Regions from separate parts of the Homo sapiens genome. Here all the other regions are linked to region 1. Evidence: promoter capture Hi-C in 16 types of primary human blood cells and fetal thymus (Javierre and others, 2016). All regions are on one chromosome and are shown on one strand. Each heading gives the region's core, a stretch centred on a gene start or on the middle of the fragment in contact. The rest is flanking DNA. Distances are from core to core; before and after follow the strand shown. Region 1 holds the start of C21orf91-OT1 (C21orf91 overlapping transcript 1). Region 2 has its middle 87 kb from the start of C21orf91-OT1. Region 3 overlaps LINC03147 (long intergenic non-protein coding RNA 3147). Region 4 overlaps LINC03147 (long intergenic non-protein coding RNA 3147).

Region 1 (4,056 bases), core at 1-2,500:
GCCTAGGATGATCAGAACTGATATGCTTTGTAGAGAACAGAACTGTTTCCTTGGTATCAAATCAGTTTCATTGTGACACTTTGCCCAATGCATAGATTTCAGTTAGAGTTCTTGAAATATAAATCATAGCACCGGCTTTCTGCATACTAAAAATGAAAGTTTTTAAATCTTTTACAGAAGTTTTTGAAGAGTTAACTCACCAAGTGCAAGAAAAAGATTCTTTGGCCTCACAGCTCCATGTCCGCCACGTTGCCATCGAACAGCTTCTGAAGAACTGTTCTAAGTTACCATGTCTGCAAGTAGGGCGAACAGGAATGAAGTCGCACCTACCCATAAACAACTGACCTAAACAGACTTACTTCGTATGCCCTGCCCTTTATTGGTCTCCCAGACATGCAAACTTTGAAGAAGTTTGAAGAAAGTTGTGGTCCGTTTTTTTATGGTCATTAAATTTGCCAAACATAAGGCAGTATTTAACATCTTTGTCAAATAAAGCAGATCATTATACTCTAGTCTTCTAGGGCTAATCATTTTGGCTCATTTGGGGACTCTTTTTTCCCAGAATTACTAAACAAATTTTATCACATGTGACTACTTAAATATACTGTTACAGTGTCATTTTATTAAACATTTTAATTCACCTGTCAAAACAACAGATTAACTCCTTAGTGTAAACTACTAGAGATAATTTTTAAGAGGGAAATGGAATTCATATCACCTCTTATTTATTATGAGCAATATTTTAATATAAAAATTTTATATGTGAAAATGCTATTTTAGGTACTTTGCCATTCTCTTTATAAATGTGTATTTGAGTGGTTCTGTATATTTATTTACATTATCATGTGTGAATATGTTCACCCATATTTCAGGTCACTGCATTTTATTCTCTTAATACAATGTTTTCACAACGGTTACCTTGCTTTCCAAAGATAAATATATTTTGGATTAGAAATCTGAGTTGTTTTAATTTCTAATACCTCTTGTAAAAGAAGAATTAATAACTTTTTAAAGCAGTATTCAGGTAAATACAATACATTATTTTGTTTTCTAACAAAAGCAGTTCTTAGTTCAGGAAGAAAAGACTAATCTGGCTTCTATGTCAATTTGTCTCCATAGAAATGAAAGCCTCCTCTTGCTTCTTTCATTATTAGCTTCACACCAGTGACTGTGATGCATTAGAATTTGGACAGAGTAAGTCAAGCCTCACTTCCAATTCAAATATAATGTCTATCTTCAAATTGAGTGTGCTGTGAAATTGTTCTGTCTTTGAAAAAAAAAAGTAAGATTATTTTGTGTGCCACTTTGGGTAAAGTTTCAAGAATACTTAAACTGTCCAAATTGTATTATCACCATCATTGAACTTAGTGCTCAAAGAAAGCATTGTGAGGTATTTTTCTAAACTTTAGACTCTATAGAGAAATATAGGATTGTTCTACAGAAGAAAAGCAAAACTCCTAATTAAAAAAAAATAAACCTATGTATTAAGAGAATGTTCTCGTAAGTTGCCTATGATGCTTCCAAAGAGTTTTTATCTAACAGATTGTGCCAAACAGCTAGATAAATTTTAATAATGTATTACAGTAAAGGCTATAACCAATGCAGAATTAAAATGGGCTCTAAATTCTGTTTTTAACTCATGTTTAGAATGTACTTATGAGGTAGATCCTTGCTTGAAAGTATCTGCTGAAAAGCCCAGTAACGTGGCAGCTTCATGCATAAAGATATAAATGACATTTGCCTTAAATTTGGCAGCCTACCCTGGCTTGGGTCAGATTTTGTTGTTGAACACAAGAAAGTATTTAAGCAAAGAAACACTTCAGTTTAATTGAAAACAACTTTTTGTAATGCTGACGTGTTAAATTGGCCTGAGGGTATTAATTGATATCTGTTGATTTTGTTTTTCTTTGAAGTATAACATTACTTTTTGGAGGGAATTTTTGAAAGATGCTTTCGATTTCTCTCAATTCTTTAAGTCATGCAAAATGAATTTAAAATCCAGGGAGTATGGATGCATTGCCTTAGTTTTGATGAGCTTTAAATTAAATGTGTGCAATATCAAAATATTCAAACTTACAAGCTGGGTAAATACATTTCCTGATTAATATCTTAGTGCTTAATTGTTCCCACATTTTCAAATTTGACTTTACTCTTTTTTGGCGTAATTCAGTAAGATTGTTACCAGCCAGTGTGTTTGCACACATTTGGGTTTGTGTTTAGATGAGTTAGGGACAGTCATAAAAGTTGGGGATATGTTGCATTTGATATCAATAGTAGCATATTTCCAGAATATGAGCCATAAGTTGCAGTCCTGAATACAACAGTGTTATCCAAAGAAAGGAGTTTTCTGACAAATATACATAGCTTTGCTAATGAGTACGGAACAAGTGGATGAACGTGTGCATGTGCTAAGGTCTTAAGTGGGACTCTGATTTATTCCATTTAGATATTTCTACTTAAGCTCTAAAAAGGAGAGGTGCTCTTAAAAAAAACTTTGTGGTGCTGGTACTCACACTACTTTATTTGGATGAGTTCCTAGTAAAAAAAACTTTTTGTTGAAGTATTTTGCACAGCAGTTTATCCAAATGTTTGGTAAACTTATAATTTAGTCCTATGTTAGTTTTCTTAATCAAATATGCAATTACTGTGTATGCAAATATAAGTATCAGGTACAGAGTTGAGTTCTAACAAGAGAACATGAAATATCACAAATATTGTTTTCCACACTTGGCTATTCTCTACAGTTGTTAGTAATTTTTGAGAATGTTTTGAAGCATATCTCATGTACTACTGTTTAAAAAGTGGCAAAACAGACTGCCAGTCATCCATTACTAAATTTTCAGAGCTTATATGATTAAGGGGAGTGAGATAAGACAAATCTTTTTCACGTTCAGTTTTATAATTTGACACGTTAAATTGAGTTTTAAAAATTAGAAAAGTGTTTTTGACCACACAGGTTGTTCTCTTTAAAGTTCAGCCTTATAATGAAGCTAAAAATCAATTATGTTTTACTTTGAGATTATCATCTTATCCTTTGATCCTCATATTAATATCTAAATTAGTCTTTTTTAAAAGGCATGCACTTGAGACTCCAGTAATAGATGATTCAGGCAGCAGAATAGTGTTTTGTTGTGTCGTTGACTATGCACAATGGTGGAGCAAAGACACATTCTTAGTTTTTCAAAACACATGTTCATTTTACCACAAAGTGCCCATTTTTATATACATTTAAGGATTATTTTTTCAATGTCAAGTTCATGTTAGTGATTTCAGAAATATAGTCAAAATATATAGTCAAATATATCTTGACAGGCATCTTGAGATTTGGTTTTTCATTTTACTATATTTATGACTGAAAATGGTTTTGTGTTTTCTTTATGTTGTTTATATATTTTTTACCTTAGTGTTTACACTGGTAAGGCTTGTTAGTCCATTTTTGTAGTTTTTTTAAAGTAAGCTTTTAGATCTATTTGTGTTTTAATGTTTCCCAGTTTGGGTTTTGTTTTGTTTTGGAAGAATCTGCTTTCATTATTAAATTATAAAATGTAAATGCTCTAAAGTAGGAATTTTTAAAGAGTAAATTATTTGTGTAGCTTATTAGGAGGTTCAGGTTAGTGACCATAAAGTGGGTTACTTGTACATGAAAATTTGAAATGGTACCATGTAAAATTCTTCTATTGTCAACTTTTTCTGATGTATGCCAGTTCATTTACTGACAAATGTTGTTACTAAGTGCTTATTAAGAAGTGTAATACGCTATAAAAAAGTTAATACTTTTTGTTCAGATGTAAGGCAAAGATAATTGATGCCGTTTCAGTGTATGATTGTATTTTTAACTTTTACGTTGGTGGGAGTAACTATTTGAGGAAATTTGTGGTGAGAATTAGTAAGAGATAAAACCCCCAACAGTTTATTCTTACCAAGTAAAGTTTTGTGGTCATGGGGCAGGGAAGAGTTTATTTACCAGAATACTAGAGCCCTCACACAAAATAAAGGTAACTTGGAGGAGGGCTATAATGCTTGCATCTCAGTATTTTCATTTCACTTCATCCTTTC
Region 2 (4,148 bases), core at 51-2,550, 86 kb after region 1:
TTAGCACCACTTTGCTGTATCCCAGGGGTTTTGATAATTTGCGTCACTCTTGCCATTCAGCTCGAAGAATTTTCTAATGTCCATCTAGATTTCATTTTTGACCCAATGATCATTCAGGTACAGGTTATTTAATTTCCATGTATTTGCATGGTTTTGAAGGTGGTTCCTTTTGGAGTTGATTTCTAGTTTTATTCCACTATGGTCTGAGAGAGTGTTTTTCTTAAATTTATTGAGACTCATTTTATGGCCTATTATATGGTCTATCTTGGAGAAAGTTCCATGTGCTGTTGAATAAAATGTATATTCTGTGGTTGTTGGGTAGAATGTTCTGTATAAATCTGTCAAATCCATTTGTTCCAGGGTATAGTTTACACTGATTGTTTCTTTGTTGAATTTCTGTCTTGATGACCTGTCTAGTGCTGTCAGTGGAGTACTGAAGTCCCCAACTATTATTGTGTTGCTATCTCATTTCTTAAGTCTATTAGTAATTGTTTTATAAATTAGGGACTTCCAGTGTTAGGTGCATATATATTTAGGATTGTAATATTTTCCTGTTGAACAAGACATTTTATCATTTATATAATGTCCCTCTTTGTCTTTTTTAACTGCTGTTGCTTTAAAGTTTGTTCTGTCTGATATAGGAATAGCTACTCTTGCTCACTTTTGGTGTCCATTTGCATGGAATGTCTTTTTCCATCCCTTTAAGTTTATGTGAGTCCTTATGTGTTAGGTGAGTCTCTTGAAGGCAGCAGATGGTTGGTGAGTTCTTATCCATTCTGCAATTCTGTATCTTTTAAGGGGAGCATTTAGGCCATTTACATTCAACATTAGTATTGAGATGGGAGTTACCATTTCATTCATCATACTATTTGTTCCCTGTATACCTTGGTTTTTTTGTTTTTTGAGGGTTTTTTTTTTATATTGCCTTTTTGTTTTATAGGTCCTATGAGATTTATGCTCTAAAGGGGTTCTGTTTTCATGTGTTTCCAGGATTTGTTTCAAGATTTAGAGCTCCTTTTAGCTGTTCTTGTAGTGCTGGCTTGGTAGTGGCGAATTCTTTCAGCATTTGTTTGTCTAAAAAATACCATTTTTCCTTCATTTATGAAGATTAGTTTCACTGGATACAAATTCTTGGCTGATAATTGTTTTGTTTGAGGAGGCTGAAGATAGGTCCCCAATGTCTTCTAGCTTGTAGGATTTCTGCTGAGAAATCTGCTGTTAATCTGATAGGTTTTCCTTTATAGGTTTCCTGGCGCTTTTGACTCACAGTTCTTAAGATTCTTTCCTTCATCTTAACTTTAGGTAATCTGATGACAATGTGTCTAGGTGATGATCTTTGTGCAATGAATTTCCCAGGTGTTCTTTGTGCTTCTTGTATTTGGATGCCTAGGTCTCTAGCAAGGCTAGGGAAGTTTTCCTCAATTTTTCTCCCAAATATGTTTTCCAAACTTCTAGGTTCCTCTTCTTCCTCAGGAATGCCAATTATTCTTAGGGTTGGTAGTTTAACGTGAACCCAGACCTCATGGAGGCTTTGTTCAATTTTTCTTATTCTTTCTTCTTTGTCTTTGTTGGATTTGGTTAATTCAAAGAACTTGTCTTCAAGCTCTGAAGTTCTTTCTTCTGCTTGTTGAATTCTATTGCTGAGACTTTCCAGAACATTTAGCATTTCTATAAGTGTGTCTATTGTTTCCTGAAATTTTGATTTTTTATTTATGCTATCTATTTCATTGAGTATTTCTCCCATCACTTCTTGTATCTTTTTTTTTTATTTCCTTAGATTGGGCTTCACCTTTCTCTGTTGCCTCCCTGATTAGCTTAACAACTAACCTCCTGAATTCTTTTTCAGGTAAATCAGGGACTTCTTCTTGGTTGGAATCCATTGCTGGTGGGCTAGTGTGATTTTTTCTTGGGTGGTGAAGAACATTGTTTTGTCATATTGCCAGAGTTGGTTTTCTGGTTTCTTCTCATTTGTCACAGAGGTCTAAGGCCAAAGGCTGTTGTTCAAATTGTTTTGTCCCATGGAGTGTTCCCTTGATGTAGTACTCTCCCCCTTTTCCTAGGGATGTGGCTTCCTGAGAGCCAAGCTGTAAAGATTGTTATCTCTCTTCTGGATCTAGCAACCCAGCAAGTCTACCAGGCTCTGGGCTGGTACTGGAGGTTGTCTGCACAGAATCCTCTGATGTGAACCATCTGTGAGTCTTTCTGCCATTGATACCAGCATCTGCTCTGGTGGAGGTGGTGGGGGAGTAAAATGGGCTCTGTGAGGGTCCTTGGCTTTGGTTGCTTAATGCACTATTTTTGGGTTGGTTGTCCTCCTGCGGAAGGTGGTGATTTCAAGAGCATCAGCGGTAGTAGAATGGGGAGGAACAGGTGGTGGGGGGCACCACCACCCCCTTGAACTCCCAAGAGTATATGCCCTTTGTCTTCAGTTACCAGGGTAGGTAGGGAAGGACCATCAGGTAGAGGCAGTGGCAGGCGTGTCTGACCTCAGACTCTCCTTGAGCGGTCTTGCTGCAGCTGCTGTGGGGGATGAGGTTGAGATTCCCAGATCAACAGTTATGTTCCTAGGAGGATAATGGCTGCCTCTACTGGGTCATGCAACTTGTCAGGGAAGTGGGGAAAAGCCAGCAGTCATAGGCCTCACCCAGCTCCCACACAACCCAAAGGGCCAGTCTCACTCCCACCGTGCCCCCAGTAACAGCACCAAGTGTGTTTCCAGGCAGTGGGTGAACAGGACTGAGAACTTGCCCCAGGCTACCCACTTTCCAGCTGTGAAAGCAATTAGGGCTTTTATTCTTCACCTGCCTGTGGAGTCCGCACACTGGATTCATGTCCTCCCCTGAGTTCTGGCCAGGGGGCTTCTCAATCAGTTCATATTGTTAGCAAATTTCAGCTGGAGATTTTCTTCTCCCTGTGGCCTTTTCCCAGTGCCTCTGGCCACTCTTCCCAAGGGCCCCTGTGAGGCAGGGCAGAAATGGCTTGCTAGGGAACCCAACAAGCCCACAGGACTTTTCCTGCTGCTTCCTCTACCCCTGTATTTCACTCGGCTCTCTAAATTGACTCAGCTCCAGGTAAGGTCAGAATCTTCTCCCATAATCTAAGCCTTCAGGTTCTCTTGTGCAGGGGTATGTGTTCTGGGGTGCATGATCTTCCTTTCTCGCTTCCACAGTTTGGGCACTCATAGTATTTGGGGTATCTCCTAAGTCCTGCAGGAGCAATCCACTTCCTTCAGAGGGTCTGCTGGTTCTCTTGGCTTTCCTAATGTATTCCTGCAGTCATTCTGGAGCAAAAGTTCGTGATGCAAGCCTCCACATGCTGCTCTGTCTGTCTGAGTGGGTGCTGCAATCTAGTCCTGGCTTCCATCTGCCATGATCCCTGGATTATACATTTTAAATAAGTCTGGTCTATCAGCCTTAAGGTCTGTGTTGATGTTAATGGTAATGAGGCATGTCCAACTCCTCCTTCCCATCATGCCTTGAACTAGCTTTTCAGTTTAACTTTGGAATGTCCTTGGCCTAGAGGAGGGTCCATTCAGATGGTTGGAGGCGCTTAGAATTTTACTTTTGATTTATAGTACTAAATTCCACTGAATTCTTCACTTTAAAATGGTAATTTTTATTTATTCTATTTATTTTTTTAAGGTCCTTCCCCTGCCCTTAAAAAATGATAATTTTTTTTACACAAATTTTACCTCAGTAAAAAAGTAAAATGTTTTTTAGAAAGCAAGTACACACCGCCAGGCGCGGTGGCTCATGCCTGTAATCCCAGCACTTCGGGAGGCCGAGGCGGGTGGATCACCTGAGGCTGGGAGTTCGAGACCAGCCTGACCAACATGGAGAAACCCTGTCTCTACTAAAAATACAAAATTAGCTGGGCGTGGTGGCACATGCCTGTAATCCCAGCTACTAGGGAGGCTGAGGCAGGAGAATCGCTTGAACCTGGGAGATGGAGGTTGCAGTGAGCCGAGATTGCTCCATTGCACTCCAGCCTGGGCAACAAGAGTGAAACTCTGCCTCAAAAAAAAAAAGAAAGCAAGTACACACCACACACACACACACACACACACACACACACACACACACACATTCTGTGTTAGCCAGTTCTCACATTGCTATGAAGAAATGCCTAAGACTGGGTAATTTATAAAG
Region 3 (3,933 bases), core at 40-2,539, 91 kb before region 1:
GGAGAATCGCTTTTGAACCCGGGAGGCGGAGGTTGCAGTGAGCCGAGATCACGCCACTGCACTCCAGCCTGGGCGACAGAGCGAGACTCCGTCTCAAAAAAAAAAAAAGAAAGCCATTCTCTAGCGTATTCTTTATAAATTTTGCCCAAAGATTATTATTATGCTCTATTCTTTTTAAGTGGTAGTTTAAAATGATTACATTTCAAATGTCTCAACAGTATTTTGATTATTTTATTCAGTTGATATTCAAAGATTAAGCTGAAGAATACAATCTTGATTTTATAGATGAAGAAAGACTTTTAGGCCATGACCAAGATTGTGAGGGCTGGTCTTATAAATACGTGGTATGACATGAGGATTCTAGAAAGTTCCACCTGCCCAAATATATTTCATCTACTTGCCAGGGCACCAAGGATGCTTTACTAAAAATTCATAGCTTTCAATTTCAAACATTTGTTGACCATCATTAATCCTATACTAAAGTGCCAATATCCCTGCAAGGGATCTTGTAATGTCTACATTAAAAGTCATTAACAAAGAATAACTTTCAACAGCATTTCCCAACAGGTATCTGATACATGACTAAGGGGTTCCATGATCAAATATGATGAAGAAATACTGAACATTATTTTTCTCTCTTACAGAGTCACAATATATATTAGCATATAAAAAACTCTGAAGAGTTCAACGATTATTTTTTAAAGGAATTTTAAACTTTTCAAAACTCAGCAAGTCCAAAACTCTTAACTCTTAGGGCTCCAATGGCATTTATGACTGCTATGAGAATTATAATAACAGCTAGCTGAGAGCAAGATGCCAAAATTAAACAAAAGACCGCCAACTGTATTGGAGCCAGAAAGGGGCACTCAAATGGCTAAGAAACTGCTGATAGTGAAGATGAACGTTTCCCAAGGAAAAACTGGATTTGTTCAACTCTTTTTCTTGGACTGGTTCTTGGAATTTTATCTATGGATAAAATTCATCTTGTCTAGGCAGCTTCGTTTCGTCAGAGCCAAGTCCCCACATAATCGCATCCATTGAGATGCATTTTAAGGTTATATCACTATTATCTAAAGACAACACAAGAAGTCGTCATATAGATTCCATTCATGTGCTTGCTATTTGGAAGAAGTCAAGCATGTTGTCTATTATCTTGTTCAGTGCCCCTTATATAAAGCACCACATTGAAAATGCTTTTCAGAACTTAGTGCTAAAAACAAACAGTTTTGCCTTCCCTGAGGAACTGAAATCCTCTTTCCTTTCTGAAAAAGAGCAATAGGTCTTTCTGCTTGCTTTGATTGCCAGGAAACCCAAAGCCTAATGTCAGCACAAGTATAATAACCACATAGGCCTTTACGGTCTGAAAGATTTTTTCTTTCTTTCTTGCTATTTGCTTTTTTTTTTTTTTTTTTTTTGAGAAAGATCTCCCTCTGTCACTCAAGCCGGAGTGCAGTGGAGCGATCTTGACTCACTGAAGCCTCACCTGTTGGACTCAAGCAATCACCCCACCTTAGCCTCCCGAGTAGCTGGGACTACAGGTGTGCACCACCACATCTGGCTAATTTTTGTATTTTTGTAGTGACAGGGTTTCTCCATAGTGCCCAGGCTGGTCTTGAACTCCTGAGCTCAAGTGATCCACCCACCTTGGCCTCCCAAAGTGCTGGAATTACAGGTGTGAGCCACCACGCTGGGCCAAAAGTTTTTTCTTGACTCCGTACTCTTATTAATGCCTCCTTTGGTCATGACTGAGTTTCTCAGTCTCCATTTGTTTGTTGTGTGTGCTTGTCATAAATCATTGCAATCCCATTCAGAAAGGTGAGGGAGGATAGGTGAGAAGATGGAAAGATTATAAAAGACAAACAGAGGCCAGGCGCGGTGGCTCACGCCTGTAATCCCAGCGCTATGGGAGGCCAAGGCGGGCAGATCACAAGGTCAGGAGATCGAGACCATCCTGGCTAACATGGTGAAACCCTGTCTCTACTAAAAATACAAAAAAATTAGCCAGGCATAGTGGCAGGCACCTGTAGTCCCAGTTACTCAGGAGGCTGAGGCAGGAGAATGGCATGAATCAGGTAGGTAGAGCTGGCAGTGAGCCCAGATTGTGCCACTGCACTCCAGCCTGGGCAACAAAGCGAGACTCCATCTCTGAAAAAAAAAAAAAAAAGACAAACAGAAATGACTGGCTCCTGTATCTGTATGTAACACACCACCAGTACCTTACATGGGGCCTGGTATATCGTTGACACCTAATAATTTTTTTTTTATTATACTTTAAGTTCTGGGATACATGTGCAGAATGTGCAGGTTTGTTATACAGGTCTACACATGCCATGGTGGTTTGTTGCACCCATCAACCCGTCATCTACATTAGGTATTTCCCCTAATGCTATCCCTCCCCTAGCTCCTGACCCCCTAACAGGCCCCCCGTGTGTGATGCTCTTCTCCCGGTGTCCATGTGTTCTCATTGTTCAACTCCCACTTATGAGAACATGCAGACACCTAATAATTTTTAATATTTCTAAGTGAAGAAGTGTTCTTGATAATATTTACCTCATAGCTGGGCACAGTGGCTCATGCCTGCAATCCCTAATAATCAGGCAGCTATACTCAGGCCATGAGTTCAAGATAATATTTACCTTATCAAGATCTCCAAGGAGACATGCTTCTTATCAAAATGTATGGCAAAGATACTGTGCACAGGTTAAGGCTGCCAGCTCTCATCACTGCTTGTGTTGAAGGAATTCCATTGCAGATAGGCTGAGGAATAACCTCAGAACAGTCAGTGAGCACACACCAGGGACAGGCCAGAGAACTTAGGAGGTAACATCTAAGAGAGACTGTCTCCTTTGCGGATCTGCAGAGGGCTACGAGTCTGTTAACCCATTCTGCTGAAAACAACAGATTTGCTAATAAGGCAAAGTTAGGATGAGACATGACTCAGAGAGTAGATAAACACACATACACACACACATACCCAAACACAAACACATACTCAGCGAATGTGTTTGGGTAAGGAGGAGTGAATTTGAAGGGGAAACCCCAAATTACCTATTCAGAATACATTCTGTAATAAGGAGAAATTGCAGGACAAGCATTTGTTTTACAGAGGGCTCCAAAACGTGTAGTAAATATACAGTTGATTGGTCCCATCATAGAAACCACACTCAGATATGATTCCTGAATAGCACTGCCAACTTTATTATCCAATAGTAGCCAGAACTATGAGTATTTTAGTGTTATGACTTGGAGTCAAAAAGCCTTTTCTCATGCCTGAGAAACCAGCAGGCAGAGAGTAAGTACTAGAATCTATAGAGATGGGGAAGCTATACCAGGAGTGTTGATTTTGATTTTCATTTTCCAAAGGCACAATTATCTGCTGATCTGAAGGGCCCCTTGCATGTGATACCTTGTAGTGTAACTATTTTGCAGAAATTGTTGGAGGGGTAACATTATTGCTTGTGTAATTTTCCCAATGGAAACTGCATCTATTTATTCATCTCAACAAACACAAATAGCTTTCCATGCCCAGTCACTGGGGCAGAGGGTGTACAAAACCAAATAAAGCACAGTCCTTGCCTTACAAAGGTTAAGGGTCCCAAAGTTCTGGTCTTATTTTTGTAAATGGACCTTTAGTCTCTCAAAATCCTTGCCCTGCTGAGGCAGAGAGAGGGTGAAGTATGCAGCTGTGAGTGGCATCATATTCTTAATGAGTGCACTTGTTTTCAGCTCTTTATTATTAACAACTTAGTTCTAAAGCCCCATATGCACTCAGAAGTGAAAAACTACATCAACAACAACTGGCTTTTATTCTAAGGCCTTTACATGTATCAGTTCGTTTCCTCCATAGCCCTTTGGATGTGACTGGCATCTCCTAGCAGTTGCACGCACCTTTCTTCCCCCTCTTAGGACATTCAGAGTTCAGAGCCCATGTTG
Region 4 (3,894 bases), core at 1,132-3,631, 70 kb before region 1:
TTAATAAAACATCCTATATATACTCTAAATTACATGTATCTATATGTATGCACAGATATAAATACTTATGAAGACAGCAAACATAAATTATTAAGTTAGTCTGTCTATAAAGTATGAAATAAAATGATAAAAAACAAAATACACATGCGCAAATTTCAAGAATACACAGGATTTCAGGTCTGTGACTTAACAGTTTTCGTATTTTGTGTTTCTAACTATTGACTTGTTTACCTTATCCCCTCTTTTTTTTTTTTTTTTTTTTTTGAGATGGAGTCTCACTCTGTTGCCCAGGCTGGAGTGCAGTGGCACAATCTCGGCTCACTGCAACCTCCGCCTTCCAGGTTCAAGCAATTCTTCTGTCTCAGCCTCCAGAGTAGCTGGGACTACAGGTGCATGCCGCCACAATTGGCTGATTTTTTCTTTGTATTTTAGTAGAGACAGGGTTTCACTGTATTGCCTAGGCTGGTCTTGAACTCCTGAGCTCAGGCAATCCGCCCGCCTCGGCCTCCCAAAGTGCTAGGATTACAGGCATGAGCCACCACACCTGGCCACCTTATCCCCTCTTTAGGGCCATCACAGGCCATTTTCCCACTGTATTGACTCAGTTTAAACTCTATTCAGTTGATACTTAGACGCTGACACCATGTAGCCTTTTTCCAGGCACTTAACGCTAACTTTTTCTTTTTTTGGACACAGGGTCTCAGTCCCCTAATCCAAGCTGGAGTGCAGTGGTACAATCATGGCGCACTTGTGCAGCCTTTACTTCCCCAGGCTCAATCAATTCTCCCACCTCAGCCACCCAAGTAGCTAGGACTTCAGGTGTGTGCCACTACACCTGGCTAATTTTTTGTATTTTTAGTAGAGAAGAGGTTTTTGCCATGTTACCCAGGCTGGTCTTGAACCCCTAAACTCAAGCGATCCACCCACTTTGGCTTCTCAAAGTGCTGGGATTACAGGCGTGAACCACCGCACCTGGCCAACCCTAACTTTTTCACATCATCAGTGCCCATTCTCTGAGTGACTGTGATTTAGGGTCTGTGCCACTAACCATTTCTGTGTTAAATTCCTTGGGCTCCTCCCTTCCAGTTAAATCTATGTACAATTCTTTCTTCAAATATTCATTCCTTTCTGAGCCATTTAAAATCTATATCTGAAAAAGCCTTGATCCTGAAGGCAAAACATTTTGTGTTGTTTCACTGATAAGGATAAATGGTAGGATATAAGAGCAAAAGTCTTTAGACTCTAAGTGCCATAACTTGACCCTAGTGTTTTGCACTTAACAGGTGCTTGCTATTGTTAATAATAAGCAACTTGCCCAAGGTTCATTCATTAATTGGCTCAGTAAATATTAAGTATCTACTATGTGCCTAGCACTGTGCTAGGCCATAGATAATCCAGTGAGCAAAAATGGGTACAGTTTCTAATTATGTGTTGTGGGGGAGACAGATATTTAGCAAATAATCACAGAAATGAGTTTCTAATTGCAAACTGAGACAAGTGCTATGAAGAAAAAGAAATATGGTTTTATGAGTTTGCTAAATGCAGACTAGATTGTTTTAGACTAACCATCTTACTGAGAAAACTAAAAAAAAAAAAAAAAGGATTTAAAAAAAAAATGTTTGAATGTGTCATAAAGCTACCAAGATTGAGAGCTCTTGATGGGCCAAAATCCAAGAAAGGAGGATATTGCTGAGAGGTGAACCCGACAGTCAGGATGACTTTTCCTCTTAGGGCATTTGCTAATTCTAGTTGTAAGTTCAGAAGATGAGCACAGCTTGCTATAGAGTGATAAGAGCTGGGGAATAAAAGTTAAAGACTCATGAAGTGGCTAGGCACACTGGCTCACCCCTATAATCCCAACATTTTGGGAGGCCAAGGTGGGAGGATCCCTTGAGCCCAGGAGCTGGAGACCAGACTAGACCATATGGCAAAACCTAGTCTCTATTAAAAAAAGAAAACAAGAATTAGCCAGGCATGTTGGCAAGTGCCTGTAGTCCCAGGAACTCAGGAGGCTGAGGTGGAGGATCGCTTGAGCCTAGGAGGTGGAGGATGCAGTGACCCACGATCTCTAAAAACAATAAATTAATAAATAAAAAATAAAAAAATTTAAAACACACACACACACACACACACACACACACACACACACACAAAGAAAGGGAGGCTTGGATGCTTTGATAAACTCCAAAGCTTTCAGTTGATAAAATAAGGTACTTATGACTGCCCTTCTCCATTACTTATTCCATGTGCCTTTGTCTTTAACCAGCACTCCAGATAGTCGTGGCCCTTCAACCAATAGGTGACTCAGAATCTTAGTCCTAAAGTATAATACCTGAGCCATAGATTATTCTGCTTATAAAGTGATGTTTTAGCTTTTGTTAAATTTTACTATTGGGCATGGCTGTACTAGGAGGAAATTCAGATTATTATTTTAGCACTATCATGCCTCTCTCTGTGCCCACTGTGTAGTAAAACCCTTGACAGGATTAATTAGTTAACAACATAACTTCCTTTTGCTCATTTACTCAGTGGCATGAAGAACTCTGAATGGGTAAGCTATAGTCTAAGCTTCAAATTTAAAGGAATCATTTGCCAAATATCCCAGAAGGAAACATTCTTCTCTTCAATACTAAAATCTTCAAAGTCTGAAAGAGTGAGGATGGGAGGTAAAACATTTGTAAATAGATTATTAAATGATTTCACTTTCTCCTATTTAGGGAGAAACTCTACTCTCACTTCCAGCCTATTGTCTCCAAATGCATGTATTCAGTTTGTGGGAGATATAATACTGTATACTGATCCTTGGCTAAAAGGATATTACGAGACAGTCCTCTAGTCACAAGGTGTTGTGTCTAAGCTCTCCTATATGTGAGACTCCGATCGGCCATAGCTGTTTCTGAGCCTTGGGTATCTTAGACTTGTCAATCACCCTTTGCCTCACTTTTTTTTTCACTGTAAAATAGACTTCCTTGATCAGAGAAAGGCTGGGTGGAATATCATAACTGTGTATAAAATAGTCATTCCATGTATAGTGGTACTGAAGCAAAATTAGGAAGAAAGGCAAATTAAAATCTAAAGTGTCATAGCCTCCTCCTTGATAGAAGTCTCGCTGCCCTCCCTAGGGCATGGTATTGTATTACAAGCTCAGGGTTAATTGCTGTTTCTGGAAAGTACACAAGGTCAGATTTTTTAGAAAAAGTCCATGTGTTAATGTCTGTCACCATATCCACTTTAATCAAGTACTAAGGAAATCAGAAAAAAGCCGACTGACATAAATAGTGAGTCATCTTGTCCACCTGATAATTAAAACCCTCATTCACTGTAGCCTTTTGTTGGTCAGTTGCATAGGCTATATTTAGTCACACTTAGAAACCCCATTCAGAGGGGTCCATACGTAAGTGTCTTCCCCAAACACTTTGTGATCAATCTTACAATTCTGCTTCTTTTAGTTCCCTGACAATCTGATTATACCATTAACCACTGCCCATCAATCAGTACAGATACCTACCTGGGGCTTTCTACTAACTGACAAAGTGGACAATAAGATAAATTGTTTACATTTCTTTTCACTGGGAGAATTTCCATTTTGACTGTCCTTCAGGACCACTCCTGAGGGTGAAAGTAATGCCTCAGCAATCTATTTCTGGTTGGTACACAAATATGCAGAGCCATCCTTTTAAAAGAATCAAATGTTTTCCTCTTCAGTCAACTGATATGAAGAAATTCCCCCACAAGAGCACAGTGGCAGCAGGAGGAGGCAAGGTGGGTGTTCATAAAGTTATTTATGCAACTTATTTCTGCCTTCACAATTGACGTGGACCTAATCCTGGATATTAGTGGAATCCACTTCCACTTGCTGATGAAGGACTTCTGACCGTGTCTAACTTCAATGTT

What was found. The method cuts DNA at HindIII sites, captures the fragments that hold promoters and counts their contacts. A CHiCAGO score of 5 or more calls a contact.
Region 2: a contact is called between a fragment that was not itself captured here and the fragment with the promoter of C21orf91-OT1 in region 1, in 8 of 17 cell types (activated CD4 T cells, naive CD8 T cells, total CD4 T cells and 5 more). The highest score is 15.3, in activated CD4 T cells.
Region 3: a contact is called between a fragment that was not itself captured here and the fragment with the promoter of C21orf91-OT1 in region 1, in 8 of 17 cell types (activated CD4 T cells, naive CD8 T cells, total CD4 T cells and 5 more). The highest score is 10.6, in activated CD4 T cells.
Region 4: a fragment that was not itself captured here is called in contact with the fragment with the promoter of C21orf91-OT1 in region 1 in 3 of 17 cell types (total CD4 T cells, activated CD4 T cells and total B cells); the score reaches 6.7 in total CD4 T cells.

The regions. Positions count from the first base shown.
Region 1 is chr21:17,789,703-17,793,758 of GRCh38, reverse strand. It overlaps C21orf91-OT1 (C21orf91 overlapping transcript 1), which reads left to right and starts at 1,250. Exons shown (of 4, transcript NR_038871.1): 1 at 1,250-1,282. It overlaps C21orf91 (chromosome 21 open reading frame 91), which reads left to right. Exons shown (of 5, transcript NM_001100420.2): 5 at 178-4,056. The coding sequence ends at 344. The region is part of intron 2 of LOC124900465 (a long non-coding RNA gene); the gene reads right to left. The HindIII fragment of the contact is 3,892 bases long and covers 1-3,459 here.
Region 2 is chr21:17,703,457-17,707,604 of GRCh38, reverse strand. No RefSeq gene overlaps it. Among named protein-coding and RNA genes, the nearest start is that of C21orf91-OT1, 87 kb to the left of the region's middle. The HindIII fragment of the contact is 8,139 bases long and covers 1-4,148 here.
Region 3 is chr21:17,880,416-17,884,348 of GRCh38, reverse strand. All of the region lies in intron 1 of LINC03147 (long intergenic non-protein coding RNA 3147), which reads left to right. The region is part of intron 2 of LOC124900465 (a long non-coding RNA gene); the gene reads right to left. Among named protein-coding and RNA genes, the nearest start is that of LINC03147, 3.2 kb to the left of the region's middle. The HindIII fragment of the contact is 6,627 bases long and covers 1-3,933 here.
Region 4 is chr21:17,861,330-17,865,223 of GRCh38, reverse strand. The region is part of intron 1 of LINC03147 (long intergenic non-protein coding RNA 3147); the gene reads left to right. All of the region lies in intron 2 of LOC124900465 (a long non-coding RNA gene), which reads right to left. Among named protein-coding and RNA genes, the nearest start is that of LINC03147, 22 kb to the left of the region's middle. The HindIII fragment of the contact is 378 bases long and covers 2,193-2,570 here.